4 separate regions of the Homo sapiens genome follow, and all the other regions are linked to region 3. Evidence: promoter capture Hi-C in human tissues and cell types (Jung and others, 2019). All regions are on one chromosome and are shown on one strand. Each heading gives the region's core, a stretch centred on a gene start or on the middle of the fragment in contact. The rest is flanking DNA. Distances are from core to core; before and after follow the strand shown. Region 1 overlaps QRICH1 (glutamine rich 1). Region 2 holds the start of LAMB2 (laminin subunit beta 2). Region 3 holds the start of BSN (bassoon presynaptic cytomatrix protein). Region 4 overlaps USP19 (ubiquitin specific peptidase 19).

Evidence for each region. The method cuts DNA at HindIII sites, captures the fragments that hold promoters and counts their contacts. A contact is called where the count stands out against the background at its distance.
Region 1: a contact is called between a fragment that was not itself captured here and the fragment with the promoter of BSN in region 3, in 1 of the 25 tissues and cell types used here (dorsolateral prefrontal cortex).
Region 2: the fragment with the promoter of LAMB2 here is called in contact with the fragment with the promoter of BSN in region 3 in 1 of the 25 tissues and cell types used here (mesenchymal stem cells).
Region 4: a contact is called between a fragment that was not itself captured here and the fragment with the promoter of BSN in region 3, in 3 of the 25 tissues and cell types used here (dorsolateral prefrontal cortex, lymphoblastoid cells and spleen).

Annotation. Positions count from the first base shown.
Region 1 is chr3:49,082,650-49,087,411 of GRCh38, reverse strand. All of the region lies in intron 1 of QRICH1 (glutamine rich 1), which reads left to right. It also overlaps the pseudogene RN7SL182P. Among named protein-coding and RNA genes, the nearest start is that of QRICH1, 9.0 kb to the left of the region's middle. The HindIII fragment of the contact is 6,032 bases long and covers 1-4,762 here.
Region 2 is chr3:49,130,485-49,135,179 of GRCh38, reverse strand. LAMB2 (laminin subunit beta 2) reads left to right here and starts at 2,130. Exons shown (of 32, transcript NM_002292.4): 1 at 2,130-2,388; 2 at 2,517-2,689; 3 at 2,775-2,910; 4 at 2,991-3,064; 5 at 3,457-3,645; 6 at 3,738-3,801; 7 at 4,028-4,230; 8 at 4,320-4,440. The coding sequence starts at 2,313. LOC124909377 (a long non-coding RNA gene) reads right to left here and starts at 2,312. Exons shown (of 2, transcript XR_007095905.1): 1 at 1,561-2,312. RefSeq lists a cis regulatory region at 477-690 and enhancers at 1,224-2,039, 2,857-3,672. The HindIII fragment of the contact is 11,964 bases long and covers 1,892-4,695 here.
Region 3 is chr3:49,551,542-49,556,151 of GRCh38, reverse strand. BSN (bassoon presynaptic cytomatrix protein) reads right to left here and starts at 1,675. Exons shown (of 12, transcript NM_003458.4): 1 at 1,326-1,675. The coding sequence starts at 1,549. BSN-DT (BSN divergent transcript) reads left to right here and starts at 1,786. Exons shown (of 3, transcript NR_038866.1): 1 at 1,786-2,111; 2 at 2,465-2,604. RefSeq lists silencers at 1,288-1,497, 1,568-1,867. The HindIII fragment of the contact is 7,009 bases long and covers 1-4,610 here.
Region 4 is chr3:49,110,021-49,114,586 of GRCh38, reverse strand. USP19 (ubiquitin specific peptidase 19) reads left to right here. Exons shown (of 27, transcript NM_001199161.2): 16 at 303-413; 17 at 494-595; 18 at 1,958-2,098; 19 at 2,185-2,303; 20 at 2,539-2,676; 21 at 2,774-3,087; 22 at 3,222-3,332; 23 at 3,421-3,637; 24 at 3,724-3,876; 25 at 3,983-4,143; 26 at 4,225-4,403. Among named protein-coding and RNA genes, the nearest start is that of QARS1, 7.5 kb to the right of the region's middle. The HindIII fragment of the contact is 5,151 bases long and covers 1-4,566 here.

The DNA.
Region 1 (4,762 bases), core at 1,506-4,005, 470 kb after region 3:
CCTGGCTAATTTTTGTATTTTTAGTAGAGACAGGGTTTCACCATATTAGCTAGGCTGGTCTCAAACTCCTTGTGATCTGCCTGCCTCAGCCTCCCAAACTGCTGGGATTATAGGCGTGAGCCACTGTGCCTGGCCTATTTTATTTTATTTTTTTGAGACAGAGTTTTGCTCTTGTTGCCCGGGCTGGAGTGCAGTGGCGCGATCTCGGCTCACTGCAACCTCCGGCTGCTGGGTGCAAGTGATTCTCCTGCCTCAGCCTCCCGAGTAGCTGAGGTTACAGGTGCCCACCACCACGCCTGGCTAATTTTTGTGTTTTTGGTAGAGATGGGATTTCACCACGTTGGCCAGACTGGTCTTGAACTCCCAACCTCAGGTGATCCGCCCACCTCAGCCTCCCAAAGTGCTGGGGATTACAGGCGTGAGCCACTGCACCGGGCCCCATATGAATGTATTCAAACTGGACTAAGCTATGAAGAGCCATTGTTGGAGTAGATGTGAACCTTGAGGGGCCTCAAAGCCCAAGGAAGAGGTAAGGTTCTGAGGCAGTTCAGACTTCTTTTAGTCCATCACGGATTGAAGACTCACTCTGCAGAGCCATACAGGGGGCCCAAAAGAGGTATCAGGGATAAGAAACCCAAGAAACAGTGATTGCAATAAGATCTTCCCTTGGTACCTAAACGGAAAAAAGAAAAAAATTAGCAAACAGACCTATAGAAATGTAATAGATTGTTGTTTTGGAGTAACCTTTGTCCATGGTACCATCTTATGTTCTAATAATAAAATAATAAAAATAATAACTCATGTAGTGAAGAATTGCTGTGCATCAGGCACTATGCTAAGCTCCAGTAGGAGGAAATACAGAGGAGCCAGGCGCAGTGGCTCACACCTGTAATCCCAGTTTTGGGAGGCTGAGGATCACGAGGTCAGGAGATCGAGACCATCCTGGCTAACACGGCGAAACCCCGTCTCTACTAAAAATACAAAAAAATTAGCCGGGCGTGGTGGTGGGTGCCTGTAGTCCCAGCTACTTGGGAGGCTGAGGCAGGAGAATGGTGTGAATCCAGGAGGTGGAGCTTACAGTGAGCCGAGATCGCACCATTGCACTCCAGCCTGGGCGACAGAGTGAGACTCCATCTCAAAAAAAAAAAAAGAAAAAGAAAAAGAGGGAGATACAGAGGAGATACCAGTGAACAATTTGATTTTATACCAGCAAAAATGTCCAGGGTCTGTTTAAGGGAGGGCTGGCTTTCCTTTATTGTTACTTATTTTTTTTTTTTTACAATGCAGCTATATTTAAAAGCGTTTAGAAGTAAATGCTTGTTTACAGACCTCATACACCCCAAGAGCATTAGAGTATTTTCTTTTTTCATTATTAGTCTCATCAGAGTCCCAGAAATTGGGAACACTCAGATATCCTCATGGCTGCATGTTTTTCAGAAATACTTTAATTAATTTCTTTATTGCTTCTTACTAAGTCTTTTACTTGGAGCTAATTAAGAATCTTTTGTCTCTTTTAGAAGTTTCTCCATTTCTCTTTATTACGAAGGCTCAACTTTTGTGTCTTATGTGCAGCATCTTGAAGTTAAGTCTTCATTATTTTGTACAAGTTTTTGGTATTTTATGGTTTAGTTTCTTTTTCTTTTTTTTTTTTTTGAGATGGAGTTTTGCCCTTGTTGCCCAGGCCGGAGTGCAGTGGCATGGTCTTGGCTCACTGCAACCTCCACCTCCCAGGTTCAAGCGATTCTCCTGTCTCAGCCTTCCGAGTAGCTGGGATTACAGGCACGTGTCACCACACCTGGCTAATTTTTTTTGTATTTTTAGTAGAGGCGGGGTTTCATCATGTTGGTCAGGCTGGTCTCAAACTACTGACCTCAGGTGATCCACCCACCTCGGCCTCCCAAAGTGCTGGGATTACAGGTATGAGCCACCTCGTTCGGCAGGTTTAGTTTCTTTCAGATTTTGAAAGAAAATCGTACTATGATCAACCAGAATTACGTGTCTGTTACCATTACTACACTATAACCACTTGTATTTTTAGTAGAGATGGGGTTTCACCGTGATAGCCAGGATGGTCTCGATCTCCTGACCTGGTGATCCGCCTGCCTCGGCCTCCCAAAATGCTGGGATTACAGGCATGAGCCACCTCTTTCGGCCGGTTTAGTTTCTTTCAGATTTTGAAAGAAAATCATACTATGATCAGCCAGAATTATGTGTCTTACCATTACTACACTATAGCCACTGTGTAGAAAAAGATGATTTTTTTTTTTTTGAGACGGAGTCTTGCTCTGTCGCCCAGGCTGGAGTGCAGTGGCACGATCTTGGCTCACTGCAAGCTCCACCTCCCAGATTCACACCATTCTCCTGCCTCAGCCTCCCGAGTAGCTGGGACTACAGGCGCCCAACACCACACCCGGCTAATTTTTTTGTATTTTTAGTAGAGACGGGGTTTCACCGTGATAGCCAGGATGGTCTCGATCTCCTGATCTGGTGATCTGCCTGCCTCGGAAAGTGCTGGGATTACAGGCGTGAGCCTTAGATTAATACCACTTGTGGAAAATTCAGAAGAGTGTTTAACAGAAGAAACTTAATTACTCTGTGGTTCCATCATCTAGGCATAACTACTGTTAGCATTCCTTTTTATCATTTTTTGAGGTGGAGTCTCACTCTTTCCCCAGGCTGAAGTGCAGTGGCGCAGTCTCAGCTCACTACAACCTCCGCCTCCCGGATTCAAGCAATTCTCCTGCCTCAGCCTCTAGAGTAGCTGGGATTACGGGTGGCTGCCACCATGCCCTGTTAGTTTTTGTATTTTTAGTGGAGATGGGGTTTCACCATGTTGGCCAGGCTGGTCTCACAATCTTGGCTGGATGTGATGGCTCACGCCTGTAATCCTAGCACTTTGGGAGACCGATGCTGTGGATCGCTTGAGGTCAGGAGTTTGAGTACATCCTGACCAACATGGCGAAATCCCGTCTCTACTAAAATACAAAAATTAGCTGGGCATGGTGGCGGGTGCCCGTAATCCCAGCCACTTTGGAGGCTGAGGCAGGAGAATTGCTTGAACCTAGGAGGCGGAGGTTTCAGTGAGCCAGGATCGTGCCACTACGCTCCAGCCTGGGCGACAGAGCAACACTGTGTCTCAATAAAAATAAAAATAAAAAAGAATTTAGGCTGGGTGTGGTTGCTCATGCCTGTAATCCCAGCACTTTGGAAGGTGGAAGCGAGTGGATTACCTGAGGTTAAGAGTTCGAGACCAGCCTGGCCAACATGGCAAAACCTCATCTCTACTAAAAATATAAAAATTAGCCGGATGTGGGCCGGGTGCGGTGGCTCATACCTGTAATCCCAGCACTTTGGGAGGCTGAGGCGGGTGGATCATGAGTTTAGGAGTTCAAGACCAGCTTGGCCAAGATGGTGAAACCCTGCCTCTACTAAAAATACAAAAATTAGCCAGGCACGGTGGCAGGTGCCTGTAATCCTAGCTACTCGGGAGGCTGAGGCAGGAGAATCGCTTGAACCTGGGGGGCACGGAGGTTGCAGTGAGCCAAGATTGTGCCTCCTGGGTTCAAGCGATTCTCCTGCCTCAGCCTCCCAAGTAGCTGGGACTACAGGTATGCAGCACCACACCTGGCTAATTTTTTTTTTTTGAGATGGAGTCTCACTCTGTCACCCAAGCTGGAGTGCAGTGGCATGATCATAGCTCATTGCAGGCTCAAACTGCTGGGATCAAGCCATCCTATCCTCCTGCCTCGGCCTCCCAAGTAGCTGGGACTACAGGCGAGAACCACCATGCCAAGCTTAGTATTGATATTTTCTAATGGTTTTATGGAATTTTTCCTACCTCAAGCTTGTTTGTCTTTTAAATTATTACTATTATTTCTAAGAGATGGGATCTCACTGTGGTGCCCAGGTTGGAGTGCTGTGGCTATCCACAGACAGGATTCTACTACTGCAGTATGGAAGTTTTGACCTGCCCCATTTCCAACCTGGGGTGGTTCACCCCTCTTTAGGCAACCTGGTGATTCCCTGCTCCCTTGAAGTCACCATATTGATGCTGAACTTAGTGTGGACACCCGATTGGCATAGAGCACTATAGCCCAGAACTCCTGGACTACTCAAGCAATCCTCCTGTTTCAGTCTCTTGAGTAGCTGGGACTGCAGGCATGCACCATCATCCCAGGCTCCCCCCCCCCCTTTTTTTTTTTTTTTTGAGACAGAGTCTCACTTTGTCGCCAGGCTGGAGTGCAATGGTGCGATCTTGGCTCACTGCAACCTCCGCCTCCCAGGTTCAAGCGATCCTCCTGCCTCAGCCTCCCAAGTAGCTGGGATTACAGGCATGCTCTACCATGCCCAACTCATTTTGTATTTTTAGTAGAGACGGGGGTTCTCCATGTTAGTCAGGCTGGTCTCGAACTCCCGACCTCAGGTTATCCACCTTCCTTGGCCCCCCAAAGTCCATAGTGCTAGGATTACAGGCGTGAGTCACCACACCTGGCCTTTTTTTCTTTTTTTTTTTTTTTGAGACGCAGTCTTGCTCTGTCGCCCAGGCTGGAGTGCAGTGGTGTGGTCTCGGCTCACTGCAAGCTCTGCCTCCCAGGTTTACGCCAGTCTCCTGCCTCAGCCTCCCGAGTAGCTGGGACTACAGGCGCCTGCCACCACGCCAGGGTAATTTTTTGTATTTTTAGTAGAGACAGGGTTTCACCGTGTTAGCCAGGGTGGTCTCGATCTCCCGACCTCGTGATCCACCCACCTCAGCCTCCCAAAG
Region 2 (4,695 bases), core at 881-3,380, 420 kb after region 3:
AGATGGAAAGGTCAGGGCCAGAATAGGGATGTTGTGGAAGGGTTAAGGCTGGGTCCAGATCAGATCTTGACTCATGTAGGGATCAGGGCTAGGGTCAAGGTTTAGACCAGGGATCAAGTGTTGATTAGGTTCAGGGTTTATTTAAGGTTAGGGCTGGGTCAGGGTCAGGGTTGTGATAGAGACTGGGACCAGGATCAGAGGTTAGAGCCAGGGGTCAGAGCCTGGCTCAGATGACCTGACCCCAGGGTTGGAGTGCCGCCTGACACAGAATGCACAGGCACTGGGCAAGAAGGCAGCCACCCTGCAGGCCCTGGAGCAGCAGGCAGCTGAGCTGCTTGGGCACATGATGTGCTTTGCCACCAATAAGTATGCCACCTGCTAATTACTGTCTATGGAAGCCATTAAGAAGGACTGTGGGATCACCTGGGTAACTCAAAGTGGCCCTAGAGTGATCCAGGAATCTCCTGGCCTTGGGAGACCAAAGATCCTACTGAGTGCCCACTGACCCTGAGTGACCCCCCCATGTGGCCCCACGATGTCCCCCAGTGGCCCTCTGACCTTGAGAAAGCAGACAGATCATGTAACTCCCTGAGGCCATCTAGTGTCCCAGACCTTGATACACCTTTATCTCTGAGTGATCTAAAACTGTGAGACTACAGTGCTGGCATTCTCCACTCAAAATAAATAGATGGGGCCTGGCACTATTTACTGGCTCATGCCTGTAATCCCAGCGCTTTCGGAGGCAGAGGCGGGAGGATCACCTGAGATCAGGAGTTCAAGACCAGCCAAGCCAACATGGTGAAACCCCATGTCTACTAAAAATAGAAACATTAGCTGGGCGTGGTGGTGGGCGCCTGTAATCCTAGCTACTTGGGAAGCTGAGGCAGGAGAATCGCTTGAACCTGGGAGGCAGAGGTTGCAGTAAGCGGAGATCTCGCCACTGCACTCCAGCCTGGGTGACAGAGCGACACTCTGTCTCAAAAAAAAAAAAAAAATTAAAATTCTCAGTAATTTCTAGTATCCCTGATCCCCCAGGTTGACTACATGATCCTCAGGGTGACTGGAGACCTCTACTCCGGATATCCAGAATAACTCCCAGCGATGCCTAAAGTCCAACGGATTGACTGACCCCCACCCAACCCTCACCCAACCCCCACCCCCGCCGCCCCCATGCTCCTTTGTGAAGTGGGGTGATTCCCCTGAGGAACTATCATCAGCTTTCTTCCCTGGATGGCAGCTCAGGGCACTCCCTGCCGGGACTGTGGAGGCGGCAGGCCAGACCCAGCCCTAAAGACCGGAGGACCCCATGTTTCCCCCAGCTTCCCGTTCCCAGGGCCCTGGGTGGGGCGCGCCCCATATCCCCCACCCACTTTCCTCCTTCTCTCCCCCTCCACGCCGCCGCGCACATTCCAACCCCAGGCTCCTGCGATCCCGGCAGGCCAAAAAGTCTGGAGCGGATAAATAGCCACAAGATCCGGAGTCGCTCGCCGTAGCTCTGGTCCACCACCCAGAGCCTATTTCCATACAGGGAAACCCGCAGCACTTCTCGTGCCTACTTACCGTAGTGACTAGTGGGGGAGGCAGTGACCCCCCTGGAGCTGTGCTTCGGGCTGGGTGTGCACTTTCCCCATCTCTCCCCCAGCCCCATTCTGTCCAGTCCCTAGGACTACCCGAGAGCCCCCCACAGCCCTGAATAGGGGCATGTGTTGCTCCTGCTTGTGCCCTCCAGCCTCTCTGTTGATGCTGGAGCCCTGGGATCAAACGGCTGAGTTGATGGTAATTTCCACGGCGCCCATGACGCTGAGGGGAAAAGGCTACGGTCTCCTTGGTCCAGAGTTGGAGATCCCGAAGATCTCTCATTTGCTCCTGCCATGCCCCCAACTTCGTGAGCCCTCTTCCAAGGATAGTTTAAAGCACCAAACCCCTTACCTTCCCCTGGCCCTCGTATAGGTGTGGGCTTGGGGGCACAATAAAGATTTGTGGGTGAAGTGGTCTGTCTCTGGTTCCTGGGGCGAAGGCAGTTTCCGGAGGGAAGGGGTAGGGTTGGGGTGGGGGCGCTCTCCGCCCGGTGTTGCGCTCCTTCCCAGAATCCGCTCCGGCCTTTCCTTCCTGCCGCGATTCCCAACTTTGCTCAAAGTCGCTGGACTCTAAGCTGTCGGAGGGACCGCTGGACAGACCTGGGAACTGACAGAGGGCCTGGAGGGAAACAGGCCAAAGACCCACAGGCAGAGTTGACACGGAACCCCAAAGCAAGGAGGAGGGCTCGGGCCCGAGACCGTTCACCTCCCCTTATCCCTGTTCCCCTCTTCAGGATGGAGCTGACCTCAAGGGAAAGAGGGAGGGGACAGCCTCTGCCCTGGGAACTTCGACTGGGCCTACTGCTAAGCGGTGAGAGGGCCTGGTGGGGGCTGGGGGTTGTGGAATGTGATGGTAGGTCCTGGTAGTTGCCCTTGGGGCACATGAGGTGGAGCCACTGGATAGGAACTCAGCGGAACTGACTGAGCTACTGTCCCCAGTGCTGGCTGCCACACTGGCACAGGCCCCTGCCCCGGATGTGCCTGGCTGTTCCAGGGGAAGCTGCTACCCCGCCACGGGCGACCTGCTGGTGGGCCGAGCTGACAGACTGACTGCCTCATCCACTTGTGGCCTGAATGGCCCCCAGCCCTACTGCATCGTCAGTCACCTGCAGGTGTGGCTGGGGACAGGGTGTGACGCCGAGTCAGGGTGGGGCTGGCACTGCCTGAGGCACTGATTCTAATCCCCATCCAACCCAGGACGAAAAGAAGTGCTTCCTTTGTGACTCCCGGCGCCCCTTCTCTGCTAGAGACAACCCACACAGCCATCGCATCCAGAATGTAGTCACCAGCTTTGCACCACAGCGGCGGGCAGCCTGGTGGCAGTCAGAGAATGGTGAGGCCATGGGTGGGGCAAAAGTGAGCAGGGCTGCCCACCAGTAGCTTTGAGTCCTTGACTTCCGATTCCTGTCCCAGGTATCCCTGCGGTCACCATCCAGCTGGACCTGGAGGCTGAGTTTCATTTCACACACCTCATTATGACCTTCAAGGTGCCTGCATATCTGGGAGCCTGCCCGAATCACCCTGCTTGGCTCTCCATTGCCCCTGGACAGAGCCTCAGCTCCTTAACACAGCCTCCTTGAGCATGGATGCAGGAGGCTCCTTCATCCCTTCACACCTTCCATTTGCCTCCAGGCCTTTGCACATGCTCTTCTGCCTTTCCAATCCCAGGCTGGGTCAGGCGCTGTCTCCCTGAGCCCCATGAACCCTGAGTCTCCCCATTAGAGGTGGCTACCTTTGCTGGTCATTATCTGGCTTCCACCAGTCACCCCCACTCTCTGTGAGCTATTTGAGGGCAGTCTTGGGCTGAGCAGGGCTCTTGATGGCTCTGGGTTGGGCTTGGGTCCTGGTGCCTGCTGATCAGCTATGCCCCCCTACCCAGACATTTCGCCCTGCTGCCATGCTGGTGGAACGCTCAGCAGACTTTGGCCGCACCTGGCATGTGTACCGATATTTCTCCTATGACTGTGGGGCTGACTTCCCAGGAGTCCCACTAGCACCCCCACGGCACTGGGATGATGTAGTCTGTGAGTCCCGCTACTCAGAGATTGAGCCATCCACTGAAGGCGAGGTGAGGGCTGGCATCTGGGCTGGGGGCTGGAAGCTGGGGATGATGGGCCTGAGGCAAGGTCCAGTGTGACTATGAACTCCCTGCTTCTCCAGGTCATCTATCGTGTGCTGGACCCTGCCATCCCTATCCCAGACCCCTACAGCTCACGGATTCAGAGTGAGTGCTCCACCCTTTGAGTCTGGCACAGTCCGTGTCCGGCTAGGGACTATTTGGGGCCTCAGTAACTATTTTGGGTGCTTCCTAGGGCAGGTGCCAAGCCCAGTTTAGCTCGGGTGGCAGTGTATAGGAGGTCTTTCAAGGTGACCTTGGCAGCTGAGCCCCTGGGTGGACATGGGGCAGCAAGGGCCTGCCTGGTCAGTTGGCCCCCCTTCCCCCGCCTCAGACCTGTTGAAGATCACCAACCTACGGGTGAACCTGACTCGTCTACACACGTTGGGAGACAACCTACTCGACCCACGGAGGGAGATCCGAGAGAAGTACTACTATGCCCTCTATGAGCTGGTTGTACGTGGCAACTGCTTCTGCTACGGACACGCCTCAGAGTGTGCACCCGCCCCAGGGGCACCAGCCCATGCTGAGGGCATGGTAAGGGGCTTCAGACGGTTGGGATAGGGCTAGGGGCAGGGGCGGACATGGCTGAGCAGTGCTGACAACCTACCTGCCAACCTCTATAGGTGCACGGAGCTTGCATCTGCAAACACAACACACGTGGCCTCAACTGCGAGCAGTGTCAGGATTTCTATCGTGACCTGCCCTGGCGTCCGGCTGAGGACGGCCATAGTCATGCCTGTAGGAGTGAGTGAGATCTTGGCCTCCATAGCTCCAGCACTCTGCAGCCTGGCTGTGCCCTGGGTAGAACCTAGAGCTAGTTGGTCAAGCCCCTAAAACCCAGGCTGTATCCAAAGAGTATGCAGACCTTGATGCCCCTTGGGACCCCCTCAATCCTCCTCTGCAGTCTGCTCTGGGTAGGGAACCAGTATGATGCTGAGGCCTTGAAGTCCCTGAGCCCCTACCCACAAATTCTGGCCTGTGATAGGGATCTAAGGTGGC
Region 3 (4,610 bases), core at 426-2,925:
CTCAAGCTAAAACCCAAACAGCAACTCAACATGCAGCAAAATGGACAGTGTTTGCAGTGCTAAGAGCTGTGTGCTATCCAACTGCATTACTATTATAGCTAGTATAAAATGGACAAATCCCACCTCTAAAAAGGATGCTCACAGGCTGACCTGTCTGCCGCAGGTTTCAAGCTACTAACAGCCTTTCATTACTGTTAGTTGTCTAAGAAATGACTTCTGAGGAAATAAACACACAAGAGGCACAGTCGGGCAGCCAAAGAATAAAAAATTATGCGTCCTCAGTTTATGTGCTTCCACACAGAAAAGCCAGGGCAACATATATCAGCAGACCCACATGGAGCTGGAAGCACCTCCCTCCCACCCCCTGGGGGTTTTGCTACTCCCCAAGCCTATTTGGTGCAAAGATAATGCCTTCCATTTTATCGTGTCATCTCTTAGTAGTTTTCCTGAGTTTTCAGTCTACTGACTTATTATATATTGGCATTCCCTTACAGCCTTCATTGCCACTTGACTGTTTTTGCAGGACCTGGGTTGGCATACATTTAAAACAAACTGGTTTCACAGTATTTAATCAGATATGTTCTGTTTAAAGCATTCTGTGTGGGTTTCAGCTTTTCCACTGGTTTGATCTAAATCATAAGGTAACGAGAACATATCTGGTGCTGGATGACTCAATAGCATTTTTGCTTCACCCCAAAATGTTTCCCTAAACCTTGGTGAAAGCACATGATCCTATTAGTATTGTTGGGCCTAAATAAGCACCTCTTGGTGTCCAGTGGGCAATTTTCCTTTCCCCCAAAGGTGATTACAGCCACTAAATGCCCAAGGAAAGCCCAAGACCAAGTTCATGGTTCAACTATTTTCATCTCTCTGTTCCTCGCAGTGACACTTATCTTCCCTGACAGCCACTCCCATTGTGCTGTTTTCTCGGCCCAGCACAATGGACACATGCAGACACCAGCAGACAGGGAGGACGTTTTCCATCCCATTGCTCTCCTGTGCGGAGGGACCAGGTTAAGGTTACATAAGCCCCTCCTGAGCAGTCAGGCCCGAGCGTTGGGGAGAAGCGAATTTGGGGTTCGTGACGGAGTCACGGTCTGCAGGCCCCGACTGACCCTGCGCTCGTCATCCTGCCACGCCAAGGCGGGGCAGCTGGAAAGGAAGGGCCGCTTCCCGCGACCACCCAGTTCACGCCAATCCGGCAGGGTTCAGAGTGCGGCCGGACGTCGAACCTCGCTGTCCACACTAGATCGCGGGATCCTGGGCCCGGGTCCCGGCCTCAGGCTGCAGCTCACCGCCCCCCGGGCGCCGAGACACGCGCTTACCTGCCCGGGCCAGGGCCGGGACCGGGGCCGGGGCCGGGGCCAGGGACCGGTGGTACCGCGGTCGACCGCGCTGCTCCCGCCGCGGGGAGCTGTCCGCCACCGGCCGGTGCTGAAGGCGGCTTTCCTGCGCCGGGGCCGGGGCCGGGGCCCGGGCCGGGGCCGGCGCCGCCGGGCGGCAGCGGCCCGTCGCCAGCGCCGCCCTCCAGGCTGACCTCGTTGCCCATGGCGGGCAGGCGGGCGGGCGGGGTCGGGGTCGCGCTGCGCCCGGGCCGGCGGCTCCCGGGCGGTGCTCACACTCTCGGCGCCGCCGCTGCCGCCGCCATCTCCCAGCTCGGCTCGCGCCGCCGCCTGCCGCTGCGCATGCGCGTCTCGCGCCCCCTTCCCTGCACACGCCCCCCTTCCCCTGTGCGCGCTCCCGCCAGCCTCGGGGTCGCTGGGAAACAGCCGCCGGCGCCCGCGCATGCGCTGTCCAGGGCCGACGCGGTTGTATCATGCTGAGAAGGAGCCGGGCGGGGGCCGGCGGGGCTGCGAGGGCCCTGTGAGGAGGGGCACCTGCCACTAGAAGCGGCCTCTGGGACGTCGCGCTGAGCCCTGCTTTGGAGTCAGAGGGGCTTTCCGCCTCGGTGAACTCGAGAGTAGCAACTCTCCTCCGGGTAACCGGAGTGCCACAGCGGGCAGGCGTCATAAGGACAGGCCTCGGAGAGGAGAGGGGCTACCCGAGAATGGCCTCAAAAGTATGCATAGGAGTTGGGAAGGCAGAGGAACAAGTGTATTCAGAGACGCAAGGTCGTAGAGGGAAGGAGAGGGAGGGTGCTGGGTGGTCGGGCCGGATTGTGAGGGTCTTTAAGGCCAGCTGGGGAGTGGAGCCTTTATCCAGATGGCGATGGGAACCATCTGGGATTCACACTGAGGAACTGGGAGTCTCAGGAAGCGCCCCGGGCACAGATGGAAGGTGTGACAGGGCTGTGTGAAGCCAGCTGGGAGGCCACCTCAGTCAGCCCTGGGAGAGTGACCTTGGGGATGGAAAAGAGGACTTGATGGTTCTCAGGCCTGGAGCTGTCTCGATGCGGGGCCGCAGGTTGCCTCTGCATTACCCTGAGAGCTTTCCAAATTACTTCCCCGCTCCCTCACATTTACAGCCGGTTTCTGCCCGCTACTCAGGATTGTCTGCCGTGGTGGCTTCTCACACAAGCCTGTACTTTCCTGTGGGAGAATATTTCCTAGGAGCCTATATTCCAGTTCATCTCTGACGTCATAAATCATGACTGTGTAGAAAGGCGTGAGTAACTTGAACCCATTTTACAAACCCATTCAATTCTCCTAATGTTGCGAAATATATCACATAGGGTGTTAGCAGTTCTAACTGAACCTAGAATAATCCAGGGATCCCAGTGAATGCTGATAGCCAGCCTGCTGGACAGACCGGTGGCTGTGTCAGTTCTTGTGAGGAGGGGCCAGGACCCTCCCTGGGCCTTCCCCTGTGCACTCCGAGCTGCTCCTCCCGACCTCTGGGATGGAGCAAGTAAGAGAAAGAGGAAATGCAGAGCCCCCACTTCCTGATATTTTCTCCTGACTTCATACCTCCCGTTTTCACGCTAAACTGCCTGGCCCCTCTGGGATGACCTAGGATGAAGAGAGCCTCTCTTCCTGCAGATGATGGTCCTTGCTGTGTTTCCTCCTGTGCTGCAGGATGTTTGATACAGCTTCGTGAGTGGTGACTACATGTGCACATTTAGGCTCCAAAAGAGTCTGCACCTCAGCCCCGATAGGACCCTTGGCAACTGACTTAGGCTCACTGAGCCTCCATTTCCTATTCTGCAAAGTTAGAATCTTAGTAGCTCCTCGAATATGGGGGATTGTAAGGGTAGAGTGGCTGATGTAGATATTTTATTTTTTATTCATTTTATTTTTTTTATTTTTATTTTTTGGAGACAGACTCTCGCTCTGTCACCCAGGCTGGAGTACAGTGGTGTGATCTCGGCTCACTGCAACCTCCACCTCCCGGATTCAAATGATTCTCCTGCCTCAGCCTCCCTAGTAGCTGGGATTACAGGTGCCCACCACCACACCTGGCTAGTTTTTGTATTTTTAGTAGAGATGGGATTTCACCATGTTGGCCAGGTTGGTCTTGAACTCCTGACCTCTGGTGATCCTCCCACCTCGGCCTCCCAAAGTGCTGGGATTACAGGCATGAGTCAATGCACCCAGCCTGATGTAGGTAAAACACCAGGACAAGTGCCTGGTATACTTATGACAACTCTGTTATTAGTTGTCTCCCTGGTGATGGTCTGGGATGTGGCGGTCTTGTGCCATATATTTCCTCCTGGGGAAGAATATGCTCACAAACACTATGGGCAGGCCAGTGGCCTGACCTTGTCCCAACCCAGGCTGTTATAGCTTCACAGACCCCAGTCAGTGTGGGTTGGGCTACTTGAAACAGGGGAAAGGATGTTTATTTTTTTGTTTTTGTAGAAACCACAGGAGCTATGGCTTTCCACAGATTTAAATCAACATGCCTCTGGTTCCTGTGTGGTTAATTAGCTCTACCCAGCCTGCAGGCTTGGGGAGTTGCCCTCCTCAGAGTGGATTCCTGGCTGTTAGCAGACCTCCAGGGTCTTTGCTGCCCTGGTGACAAAGGGCACAGCACAGTGGACCCAGGAGACCTGAAAATGTGGGTTAGAGGTGCCCCTCCTCTCCTCTCAAACTCTCCCAGTTCTGTTTCCTTTGAGGAGCATCCCCAGGAACATGCCTGCCCTGTGTTCATTCACCCTTGACATTCAGCCCAGGGACTCTTGTGGACCATGGGATGGTATTGGCCTCTGGTTATCTGGGGCTCTGATTCAATCTCCCATTTCCATTCACTGTCCCAGAGGCTGTTTACCTCCTTTTGATCTAGACTGGGGCTCCTCAACAGCAGGACCTTGTCTGACTGGTCCTATCCCCTGGGCTGGCCTTCAGCAGGCCCTCTGGGGCTCATGGTTGTGCTGGCTTCTCCATGACGCTCTGAGCATTTCCCTCACCTGCGCTTCTAAAGGGCCCACCAATCACCAGGCTTAAAAGCACTCAGAGAGATCTTTGGCTTTAGCTGCTGAGCTAATAAGTAACAGGGAGAGTGCTGGGATTGCATCTGGTTTCTCCTCATGGAGGGGTTGTTGATGAGCTCTCTTCACTCATCCAGGAAAATTCACTAGGCTTGACTATGCTTTATGACAAATGAATAAACAAATCTTTCAGTTTATGCAAGCCAGCTGTGTGGTGTGTCAAGTATCATGTCCTCCTGGGTCC
Region 4 (4,566 bases), core at 949-3,448, 440 kb after region 3:
GACTGAGGGAAAAGTGATGTTAGAGCTCAAAGGTGTTGTAGCAGGGTTGTGGGCACATGGGGTGCAAGTGTGAGGCCAATTCGTAAAGTGGCTAAGCTGAGTAGGGCTTTGAGTGCCAGAAAGAAGGATTGTTATTTCCTGGTGGTCCTCCTGCCCTGTCTAGTGTCCTGAAGCCTGAGAGTTTGCTGGTTGGCTGTGGGGGCCCTGAGAGCCATCAGAAGCCCCGGAATGGGCTCTCTGAGCATGAGCATCTTATCTCCCACTCTGTGTGCAGCTACCCAGTGCCACCTCTACATCCACAGGTCTCCATCACTTTTGACCCGTTTCTTTATCTGCCGGTGCCCTTGCCACAAAAGCAAAAGGTTCTCCCTGTCTTTTATTTTGCCCGAGAGCCCCACAGCAAGCCCATCAAGGTGAGGAGTAAGCCCCTACCCTCTGGGCTGTTCTAGAGAACGTGGCCCACCTCCCTCACTGACTGCCCTTTTTGCCACAGTTCCTGGTGAGCGTCAGCAAGGAGAACTCCACTGCGAGCGAAGTATTGGACTCCCTCTCTCAGAGTGTTCATGTGAAGCCTGAGAACCTGCGTTTGGCGGAGGTATCTTTGTCCTTCCTTGGGCTATCACATGTGTGGATGTGTGTGTGTACTCACCACAGACGTGTGTACAGTCATTGGCATCTACAGACATACACATGGGCTGGGCACAGTGGCTCATGCCTGTAGTCCCAGCACTTTGTGAGGCCGAGGTGGGCAGATCACTTGAGCCCAGGAGTTTGGGACCAGCCTGGGCAACTTGGTGAAACACTGTCTCTACAAGAAATAAAATTAGCTGGGCATGGTGGTACGTGTTATAGTCCCAGCTACTTGGGAGGCTGAGGCAAGAGGCTCACTTGAGCCCGGGATGTGGAGGTTGCAGTGAGCAGAGATTGCACCACAGCACTCCAGCCTGGGTGACAGAGTGAGACTCTGTCTCAAAAATAAATAAATAAATAGATAAAAAAATAAAAATAGGGCCAGGCGTGGTGGCTCATGCCTGTAATCCCAGCTCTTTGGGAGGCCAAGGCTGATGGATCACAAGGTCAGGAGATCCAGACCACCCTGGCTTACATGGTGAAACCCCACCTCTACTAAAAATACAGGAAAAGTTAGCCGGGCGTGGTGGCACATGTCTGTAGTCCCAGCTGCTCAGGAGGCTGAGGCAGGAGAATCGCTTGAACCTGGGAGGCAGAGGTTGCAGTGAGCCGAGATCGCGCCACTGCACTCCAGCCTGGGTGACAGAGTGAGACTCTGTCTCAAAAATAAAATAAAATAAAATAAAAATAGACATACACATGAGTATGCCTGTGACTGTACAAAAACAGGCGATGTGCTGTTATTTTTTCTGTGCAACAGAAGTGCCCTCAGTTCCTAGCCATTATCAGGGTTTATTCCCCTTTGTGGTGGTGGATCCCAACTGCATTTCCCTTTTTAGACAAGGAGCTTGAGCTGCAGGACTATCCCTATGTTCGCTCTGCCTCTCCCTCTATCCTGCTGCTCTCTCCTTTTATCCCAGTTGTGTGTGCTAGCTCTCCCCAGGGGTTCCTAGCCTTTAGCCTGACAGTGTTGGTTTTCTTAGGGGTAAGAGTGGGGAGGAGGCTCTTTGAATGTGGACCCTCCATGATAATATGTTACAGTCTTATAAGGCTATGCTAGTTATAGCAGGGCAGAGTCCCTCAGTGTGGAGAGCTGGTGTGGTTGATATCTGCCTCACACCTGGTCTTTCAGGCCCTCTGATGCACCAGGCTCCTTATGGCATTGGGCACTGAGACAGGTGCCAGCAGAGGCATAAGCCTATTTGGGCCTACAGACCTCACCACTGCCCACATAGACCCAAGGCAGGGCCAAGCCTTCTTAAACTCTGGGGCAGGGCTAGGGAAAGGGCTTATCCTCACGTGGGATCTGTGTGTTCTCTGTCCCCAGGTAATTAAGAATCGTTTTCATCGTGTGTTCCTACCCTCCCACTCACTGGACACTGTGTCCCCATCTGATACGCTCCTCTGCTTTGAGCTGCTATCCTCAGAGTTGGCTAAGGAGCGGGTAGTGGTGCTAGAGGTGCAACAGGTGAGTGGGGGCCAACCTGATGGCACAGCGCCCTGGTGGGTGGGGCACTTCTTCCTGGTCTTGCTGAGCCAGACGACCCACCCTAGCGCCCCCAGGTGCCCAGCGTCCCCATCTCCAAGTGTGCAGCCTGCCAGCGGAAGCAACAGTCGGAGGATGAAAAGCTGAAGCGCTGTACCCGGTGCTACCGTGTGGGCTACTGCAACCAGTGAGGACCCCCATGGTCTCCCCTACCCTTTCTTTCCACCTTCCATGTGCCACCCTGCTCCTTCCCTTCACACCAAGGCACATATGCTTAAGCTTTCTACTTGCCACCCTACTTTACCAGGCTCTGGGGGAGGCAGGGCTGGCGTACCCAGTTCCCAGGGACTATGACTAGCCCCCAGTATGGAGTCATAGGAGATGGGGCTAAGGGCCTATCCTTGTCTTCCTCTTCCCGTCAGGCTCTGCCAGAAAACCCACTGGCCTGACCACAAGGGCCTCTGCCGACCTGAGAACATTGGCTACCCCTTCCTGGTCAGTGTACCTGCCTCACGCCTCACTTATGCCCGCCTCGCTCAGTTGCTAGAGGGCTATGCCCGGTAAGTGCCCAGTGGTTGGACTAGAGTGGTGTAGGTGGGGGCAGAGGTGCTAGATGGGCTGGTCAGGAGTCTTACTTGCGTTGTTCTCTGTTGCCAGGTACTCTGTGAGTGTATTCCAGCCACCCTTTCAGCCAGGCCGCATGGCCTTGGAGTCTCAGAGCCCTGGCTGCACCACACTGCTCTCCACAGGTTCCCTGGAGGCTGGGGACAGCGAGAGAGACCCCATTCAGCCACCTGAGCTCCAGCTGGTGACCCCTATGGCTGAGGGGGACACAGGGCTTCCCCGGGTGTGGGCAGCCCCTGACCGGGGTCCTGTGCCCAGCACCAGTGGAATTTCTTCTGAGATGCTGGCCAGTGGGCCCATTGAGGTTGGCTCCTTGCCAGCTGGCGAGAGGGTGTCCCGACCCGAAGGTAAGATCCAGTGAAAGGCTCTAGAAGCTGGGGAGGAGGATAAGGGAGGATGGAGGGGGCTGTTGTTTAGGGCCTGGTGGGCCTGGTGAGGCCCTGATGGGCAGGGAAGCTTTGATTATCATGTTCTCACACAGCTGCTGTGCCTGGGTACCAGCATCCAAGTGAAGCTATGAATGCCCACACACCCCAGTTCTTCATCTATAAAATTGATTCATCCAACCGAGAGCAGCGGCTAGAGGACAAAGGTGTCTGAGGCTGTGGGTGGGAGCCATGGGGTGGGTTGAGCTGGCTGTTCTCCACAGCTGCATGACCTCTCTCCCTGCGAATCTCCAGGAGACACCCCACTGGAGCTGGGTGACGACTGTAGCCTGGCTCTCGTCTGGCGGAACAATGAGCGCTTGCAGGAGTTTGTGTTGGTAGCCTCCAAGGAGCTGGAATGTGCTGAGGATCCAGGCTCTGCCGGTGAGGCTGCCCGGGCCGGCCACTTCACCCTGGACCAGTGCCTCAACCTCTTCACACGGCCTGAGGTGCTGGCACCCGAGGAGGCCTGGTGAGAACAGAGCAGCAAGTAGATAAGGGGGCAGGATGGAGAAGAGAGAGACTTGCTGGTCCTGACCCAATCTCTGTCCCCACCAGGTACTGCCCACAGTGCAAACAGCACCGTGAGGCCTCCAAGCAGCTGTTGCTATGGCGCCTGCCAAATGTTCTCATCGTGCAGCTCAAGCGCTTCTCCTTTCGTAGTTTTATCTGGCGTGACAAGATCAATGACTTGGTGGAGTTCCCTGTTAGGTAAGCAGTGGACCTTGGTAACTGTGGGTGGGGTGTGAGGACCAGGATGGGCATCCTGAGCGCCTGTTGCCTGTCTCACCCCTCCCTGACTGGACCTGACCTGCAGGAACCTGGACCTGAGCAAGTTCTGCATTGGTCAGAAAGAGGAGCAGCTGCCCAGCTACGATCTATATGCTGTCATCAACCACTATGGAGGCATGATTGGTGGCCACTACACTGCCTGTGCACGCCTGCCCAATGATCGTAGCAGTCAGCGCAGTGACGTGGGTGAGGGCACACACAGCCAGCAGGATAGGTGGTAGGGGTGGTGGTGCAGACTTTGTTCACACTCTTCCCACCCTGCTGTAGGCTGGCGCTTGTTTGATGACAGCACAGTGACAACGGTAGACGAGAGCCAGGTTGTGACGCGTTATGCCTATGTACTCTTCTACCGCCGGCGGAACTCTCCTGTGGAGAGGCCCCCCAGGGCAGGTCACTCTGAGCACCACCCAGACCTAGGCCCTGCAGCTGAGGCTGCTGCCAGCCAGGTGAGGCATGTGGGAGGCTTTACAGAATACTGGGGGACAGTTCACAGACTGGGGCCGGGTTGGGGGATATAGCTTCCTCTCCTCCAGCCACAGGCCCATTGAGCCTTGGGATTCATGAGAATTGCAGAGTTCTCTTAACATCAAAGCTTTAGCCAGAGGCATC